2 separate regions of the Homo sapiens genome follow, and region 1 is linked to region 2. The links are contacts of gene promoters, found by promoter capture Hi-C in human tissues and cell types (Jung and others, 2019). All regions are on one chromosome and are shown on one strand. The core of a region is centred on a gene start or on the middle of the fragment in contact, and the rest is flanking DNA. Distances in the headings are between cores, read along the strand shown.

The links. The method cuts DNA at HindIII sites, captures the fragments that hold promoters and counts their contacts. A contact is called where the count stands out against the background at its distance.
Region 1: a fragment that was not itself captured here is called in contact with the fragment with the promoter of BOC in region 2 in 1 of the 25 tissues and cell types used here (mesenchymal stem cells).

What each region holds. Positions count from the first base shown.
Region 1 is chr3:113,062,957-113,066,476 of GRCh38, forward strand. All of the region lies in intron 1 of NEPRO-AS1 (NEPRO antisense RNA 1), which reads left to right. All of the region lies in intron 1 of LOLI1 (lncRNA oncogene in liver cancer 1), which reads right to left. Among named protein-coding and RNA genes, the nearest start is that of LOLI1, 40 kb to the right of the region's middle. The HindIII fragment of the contact is 4,184 bases long and covers 1-3,404 here.
Region 2 is chr3:113,209,580-113,213,386 of GRCh38, forward strand. BOC (BOC cell adhesion associated, oncogene regulated) reads left to right here and starts at 1,978. Exons shown (of 20, transcript NM_001378074.1): 1 at 1,978-2,437. It overlaps LOC124909486, which reads right to left. Exons shown (of 2, transcript XM_047449436.1): 2 at 1-2,701. The coding sequence ends at 1,976. RefSeq lists an enhancer at 2,339-2,990. The HindIII fragment of the contact is 6,739 bases long and covers 1-2,389 here.

The DNA.
Region 1 (3,520 bases), core at 63-2,562, 150 kb before region 2:
TCACTGTCCTGATCCCTTAGATGAAGATGAGAAGAGAAAAGAAAGCATTAGTATTTTTACTACATACTTAGAATCCAAGTGATTCTAAGTATGTAGGCAGACTTATGTACATCACTTGGACCATGTAAGTAATAGGCATACAATACTTACATCTAAGCCTGAGTCCCAAATTATCAAACACACCATATGACATTTTCCTGGAAGCATTCCTTTTTTGGTAAGGATTCAGTGTTTCACGATTATGAGTGGAGTTGGCAGGTCCCTGGAAGTGGTAGGGAGTCATAAGACTTCAGAAACAAGATGGTGTCTTAGTCAGTTCAGGCTGCTGCAACACATTACCGAAGAGTGGGTGACTCAAACAATACACATTTATTTCTCATAGTACTAGAAGCTGGGAAGTCCAAGATCAAGGTGCCAGCAGGTCCAGTGTCTGGGGAGGGCCTGCTTCCTGGCTTGCAGATGAACATCTTCTCATGACATCCTCACATGACAGAGAACAGAAAGAGACAGCAAGCTCTTGGGTCTCTTTCTATAAGGGCACTAATCTTATTGATAAAGGCTCCACACTCATGACCTAATTACCTCCCAAAGGCCCAACCTTCTCATACCATCACATTGGGGATTAAGATTTCAACATATGAATGTGGGGAAGGACACAAACATTCAGTCCATAACCGTTGGTAGAATAGCAGAAGTAGGGCATGCCATGGGAAAGTACATGATTTTGCTTCAGGCTGTCCCTGCCTGTGCCCTCTCAAAATTATCTCATGCACCCTGTCTGGAATGTGCATGTGAGTCACTGCTCCCTAATCTAACTTGCAGTCAACCTGTTTTGACTCCTGAACTCTATGAAGAACGTGCCTGCTTTGAATTTTTTGAAAGCTTCACTCCATTTCTAGAGGTCTTCTTGTATTTTTCCACTTTGAAGAAAGAATTGCACTCCTGGTAAGGAGTATAACCAGTGGACACACAGTTTTGTCTTGAGCTCGTCTCTACCAGTACCTCAGCCTTGACCTCTCATGTCTGCTTTTGGCTGCCTGAGCCTTGGACCCCCAGTCAACAACCTCACTGCCTTCTTTATCTAGTCTTTGCAATATGGCCTGGTAGGAATCACAAATCCAGCACTAAACTCCACAGGCCAGAACTGCCAAAGTCGAGCAGTATTAACCCGCCTGAGCCAAAGATACTGCATTTTCTTCAGCTCCACACTAATGAAGAAATTTGTCAAATATTTATTCTGGAAGATAAATTAAAATCAAGTTAATAGGAAAGGAGAATGAATGATTGAATTCTGTTATTGCCTTTCTTGGCTCCTTATGTTACTGGAAAAAGCCATAAAACCTTATTTGTGCTGTTCATTTTCATATTTTCATGTTTACATTATAGCAGAAAGAAAAGTCAAGGCTGGCTCCAGATGAAACATCTCTGTCTGGAAAAGGAACACTTCGTCCCAAAGCCACAATTGGCACAGCCCTGCAAAGTGAACCTACACAACAAACTCAGGGCAAAAGTCAAATAAGAGAAGAGCTAAAAGGAGACAGAGCCCAACAGATGGAGGCTCTTTAACTTATTAAAGTGAAAAAGGTCCACAAAAGATATAGTCAATATCTGGTTTGCCAGTAATAGCAGGTTGGTCTCCAAAATCTTCCTCTGACATGATAATCAGTTCCCAGATACCATCATGCATGGCATTTCAAGAAGGAACCCCTGAGCAAATCATGGACTGACATGGATCACAAAAAAAAAAAAAAAAAAATACTCATGTGAAGTGGTTGGAGTTCACACTGCTTAAAGTTTAGCACTGGGAGCACTTACTCTCTTGTAAGATAGAAACAGGGAAGCATGGAGGTTACTATGTTTTCATGGGTATGTGTTTCTGCATTAAAAATAAAAGTATCAGAATAAGAAAGGAACAGAAATTTAAAAAACCAGACCAACTTGTAACCTGAAAATAATACCACAATAAATAGAATAAATTAGAGCCTGGAGCTAAGACTAGGCTGGGAAATTATCATAATCACATTCCATAAGAAAAATTATGACGGTCAGGAAGATCGTTCTAGTCAAGACATAAAGAAATTCAGTCAGGCCGGGCGCAGTGGCTCAAACCTGTAATCCCAGCACTTTGGGAGGCCGAGGTGGGTAGATGACCTGAGGTCAGAAGTTCAAGACCAGCCTGGTCAACATGCTGAAAACCCATCACTACTAAACATACAAAAATCAGCTGGGCATGGTGGCGGGCGCCTATAATCCCAGCTACTCAGGAGGATGAGGCAGGAGAATTGCTTGAACCCGGCAGGCGGAGGTTGCAGTGAGCCAAGATGGCGCCTTTGTGCTCCAGCCTGGGCAACAAGAGCAAAGAGCGAAACTTCGTCTCAAAAAAAAAAAAAAGAAATTCAGTCAATCTGGGCTTCACTTGTGTTCTTACTATGTGCAGGGCATTGTGTTGACACCACAGACTGATAGAAGAACTAGAAGGTCTGGTTCCTTCTAGTTTTATGCCAGGTCTGTGGTGTGCTGTAATTGGCTAAGACTCACTTGTGGGAACATATTGTCAAATATTCAGGAAATTCTTGAGCAGATTGCTAAACCATTGTTAGCTTGAAATTAGCCACGAAAGAATATTTACACCATGATCATGGACAAATGCTGCACATCAGGACTTTGTTTTCAGGGAGCCAGCTTAGCAACACACCACTGCCGTAAACATACATAGACCGTGCCTAAGGCTGCAGATGATAGACTTAGAAAGACTTGTGTATCAGCTTGAATGTTATTGGTGTATATAAATATTACTGATGTGTGTACATTTATTTTCCATCCTGAAACATTACTGAAGTTGTTTATCAGTTCCAGGAGCCTTTTCACAGAGTCTTTGGGGGGTTTTCTAGGTATGGAATTGTATCATCCTCAAAGAGAGATAGTTTGACTTCCTTACCTGTTGGGATACCTTTTATTTCTTTCTCTTGTCTGATGGCTCTGGCTAGCACTTCCAGTACTATGTTGAATAGGAGTAGTGACAGTGGGCATCCTTGTCTTTTTTCTGTTCTCAAGAGGAATGCTTCCAGCTTTTGTCCATTCAGTATGATGTTGGCTGTGGGTTTATCATAGATAGCTCTTACTATTTTGAAGTATGTTCCCTCAATGCCTAGTTTCTTGAAGGTTTTCTATCATGAAGAAATGTTTGATTTTAATGAAAGCTTTTCCCACATCTATTGAGATGATCATGTGGCTTTTGTTTTTAATTCTGTTTATGTGGTGAATCACATTTATGAATTTGCACATATTGAACCAACCTTGCATCCCAGGAATGAAGCCTACTTGATCATGGTGAATTAGCTTTTTGATGTGGTGTTGGATTCAATTAGCTAGTATTTTGTTGAGGATTTTTATGTCCATGTTTGTCAGGAATATTGACCTGTAGTTTTTTGTTGTTGTTGTTGTTGTTGTGTCTTTGCCAGGTTTTTCTATCAGGGTGATGCTGGCTTTGTAGAATTAGCTAGGGAGGAGTACCTCCTGT
Region 2 (3,807 bases), core at 728-3,227:
TTAGGATGATTAAGTAGGAAAAGGAAATGTAGGTGGATAATGCACAGAGAGAGTTCAGAGTCCTTTTCACCTTCTTGCTGAAAATGCATCATCCTCCAGATCCATTTTGCCAGAGGAACATGCCTAAGAATCCAGGCACAGAGCTGAAAGTACTCGATAAATCAAAAAGGAAATTGGCTTCTGCCTGAATGACTAAATACCGGAGAAAAAATAGTGCAAAATATGGAATAAAATACATTTATGTTTCCTTTGTAAAGGTCTTTTGGTTCAGATTCAATTAGAGTCCTATACTCAGTGTAAAGTATGTATGTTTACTGACAAGAAACAAGTTAATAAAAAACAAAACAGGGCCGGGTGAGGTGGCTCACGCCTGTAATTTTAGCACTTTGGGAGGCCAAGGTGGGCAGATCACTTGAGGCTAGGTGTTCAAGACCAGCCTGGACAACATGGTGAAACTCCGTCTCTACTAAAAATACAAAAATTAGCCGCGCATGGTGGCAGGTGCTTGTAATCCCAGCTGCTTGGGAGGCTGACACTGGAGAATCTCTCGAATTCAGGAGGCAGACTTTGCAGTGAGCCGAGATTGCACCACTACACTCTAGCCTGGGCGACAGAGTGAGACTCTGTCAAAAAACAAACAAACAAACAAACACACACACACACACACACACACACACACACACACACACACACACACACAAAACCCCCAGAGGCCCAGAAAAGTTAAGTGACTTTCCAAAGTCACAGTGGCTTCCTGACTCCCAGTGCAGCTGTCCAGCCACACAGGGAAGGCAGCACCCCCATTCACCCTACTACTAGCCTGGCTGTCTTATTTCCAGGACAGCTTCCTCACCAGCTTGGCACAAACTCCCAGTTCACTTTAAACAAATGGCTTAGCCCTGCTGGGACTTGGTTTTCTCAGCTGCAATGAAGATACGGAATGGATGACCGCTCACAACCTGTGCTTCATTCCTAAAAAATAAGAAGGGAATCCAATTTGCCACCAACTCAACATTTGCCTTCTCACTGCCCTGGAAAGGTAGTTTTTAAAACGTGGCCCCTGACCTGCAGCATCAGCATCACCTGGGAACCTATTTGAAATGCAAATTCCCAGGTCCACCTACTGAATCAGAAACTCTGGAGGTGGGGCCCAGCAAAGGGATTTAGCAAGCCTTCCAGGGAGTCCTGCTGCAGATCAAGTTTGAGAACCACAGCTCTGAAAGTTTTCTGACCAACACACACGCGCGCGTGCGCGTACACATACACACGCATAGGTAACTAACTTTTCCGTGGCCACTAGCACCCCCAACCCATGCCCCCAACCCCAGCCCCAGCTCTCCCTCCCCATTCCTCCCTGGCTCCATCCTGGGATGATGAATGGAGGTCAGGGCGCTGTCAATGGACGACGCGGCAAACCCTCCCCAACCGACCGAGGGGGTCGGGGGAGGCTGCGTTAAGGCTTCCCTGAGATTGGTTTCCTTATCATTTTCTCCACCGCCGCTGTCCCATTTTCTGATGAGTTTGCTTTTAATGATTTATCCAACAGTTTGTCTTGCAGAAGAAGAAGACCATTGAGAGGTGGGTGTCAGGAAAGTCTTGGAAGAGACTAGGCGAAAGGAGGGAAGGATTGTACATGGAAGAGCAAGGGTGCGAGGTGAAGCTAAAGAGAAAGTGAAGGCTTCAGGGGAGCCCCCTGGGTTCGGGGAAAAGGGAGAAGATGGTGCTTTTGGTATGGGAAAGCAAAAGAAGTTGGAGGAGAGCGCGGGTCTGAGGCACAGCAAAAAGTGGGTGTTAACGGGAAAACTGCCCTAGAGTTTGGGGGACTTTTTCCAGCTTCCTTTCCAAGACTTTTTCTTTGCTCCATTTTGCTCCTCCCCCTCCTCCCAGCCTCCTCCACTCCCTCCTCCTCCTCCTCCTCGCACGGTAATGGGAGGCTCCTAGGCAGGAGAAGCAAAAGAAGGAATTGTTTGCGAGTTCAGTCATCCAAAAAGCTTCTTCCATATGGAGGGACCGGGTGCGCTGGGCGCGGCGTCCCCTGCGTTGTCCTCCTGCTGCCGCCCCCGCGGCCGCCGCTTTCTGCCGCGGGGACCCTGAGCCCCGGCCCGCCGGTGTCAGCCGCCGCGCGCGCGCACAGACACACACACAGAGACACACAAACACACACAGAAAAGACACACACGCGCACACACGGCGCGCACACCCTCACGCCCGCCACAGCCACAACACGCCCGCACGCGCCCTCCCTCTCCGGCCCGCAACTTCTCGGTCCTCGGCTCCTTTGTTGCTCCAGCCGCGGCCGCTCGCCCGTGTTGTGTGTCCCCGGTGTCACCGAGCGTGTTGTGTGTCCGTGCGGCGCGGCGCTGTGTGGCTCCCTCGCGCCCACCACGCTGGCCCCCGGGCCCCGGCTCGCCCTTCCCAGGCGCCGGCTGCAGCAGAGGTGAGTCACGTCGCTGAAGTTTGTTTTCTTTTCATAAAAAGTTGTGTTTACTGTTGGTTCGGGGAGAGGAGGGGGCGGGAGGCGGCCGCAGGCCGAGGCAGCGCCAGCGAGTGGCTGCCGGGGGACGTGCCGGCGGCGGGAGCCGGGTCCCAGCGCTCGGCCGGGCGCCCGGGGCTGGGAGCTGCGGCCGAGGCTGGGCGCGCCGGGCGCCGGGCGAAGAAGTTGGGGCGAGGCGGGCAGCGGGGGTCCCGGGGGCTGCAGCCGCTACGGGGCCCAGGGGCGCCGCATCTCGTTCCCTGCCGCAGCGGTCTGGCCGGGCGATGGTGGTTTCGCCTCAGCGGTTCCCAGAAGCTTCTCGGGTGGAAGAAGGATCCAGCCAGCCTCCCAAACTTCCACCGAAGGTTGACACCAGCGCCCCGGCCCCATGCTCCAGGCCGTGGGGGGAACCCGAGGCGTGGCGGCAAATGCGTAGAGTCACTCAACACGCACTCGGCCTCTTTGGAGGGTGAGGGTTTCTCATAGTTGGCGTCTTCTAAAGGAAAAACACTAAAATGAGGAACTCAGCGGACCGGGAGCGACGCAGCTTGAGGGAAGCATCCCTAGCTGTTGGCGCAGAGGGGCGAGGCTGAAGCCGAGTGGCCCGAGGTGTCTGAGGGGCTGGGGCAAAGGTGAAAGAGGTGTGTGTGTGTGTGAGAGAGAGAGTTCGTGTGTGCGTGTACGTGTGTGCGCGCGCGTGTGTGCGTGTTCGCGCCAGCAGCGTCCTCCTGGGGTTTTTGTTGATGTAACTGTGAGAAGGTGTGGGAAATGAATCTCTGGAACCAGTGGGACGGGGCTGTGGGGAGGGCAGGGAACCCAGGAAGAATTTTCATGGGGGTGTTGAAGGGCCTGCTTGACTTTCAGGATGTTCAGTATTAATTTGCTTTTCCAGGTGATGGGAGAATGCTGAGGGATGAGAGAGGCAGGCAGACCTGAAGGAGTTAATGGAGCCTCGGGGATTTGTTTGGCAGAGTTTTGTTTTGGGGATGGGGGTGGCAGTGCCAGAGTTGCTTGGAACAGAGTTGTGCTCCTCCAGAGATGTGGCAGTAGAGCTAAGAATACCGAAACCACACACCAGCAATCCCAAACTGGCACTTTTTGGGTGTGGTGGGGTGTTCTGCTGCTCCCCTCATCCCTTCTCTGCAAGTTCAAATGGGTTCGCCTAAGTTTTTGACCCAGAGTTACCTCTTTGAGTGGACTGAGTGAAGATTATATTTTGATTTCAGGCCCTTGTGCCACCTGCAGATGCACTGTGCCCAGCACACATTTGTCACCTAGTTCTTTGTTGTCCAGAACTCGGTACACATTGACCATTGGATGAATGTCATTTTAAA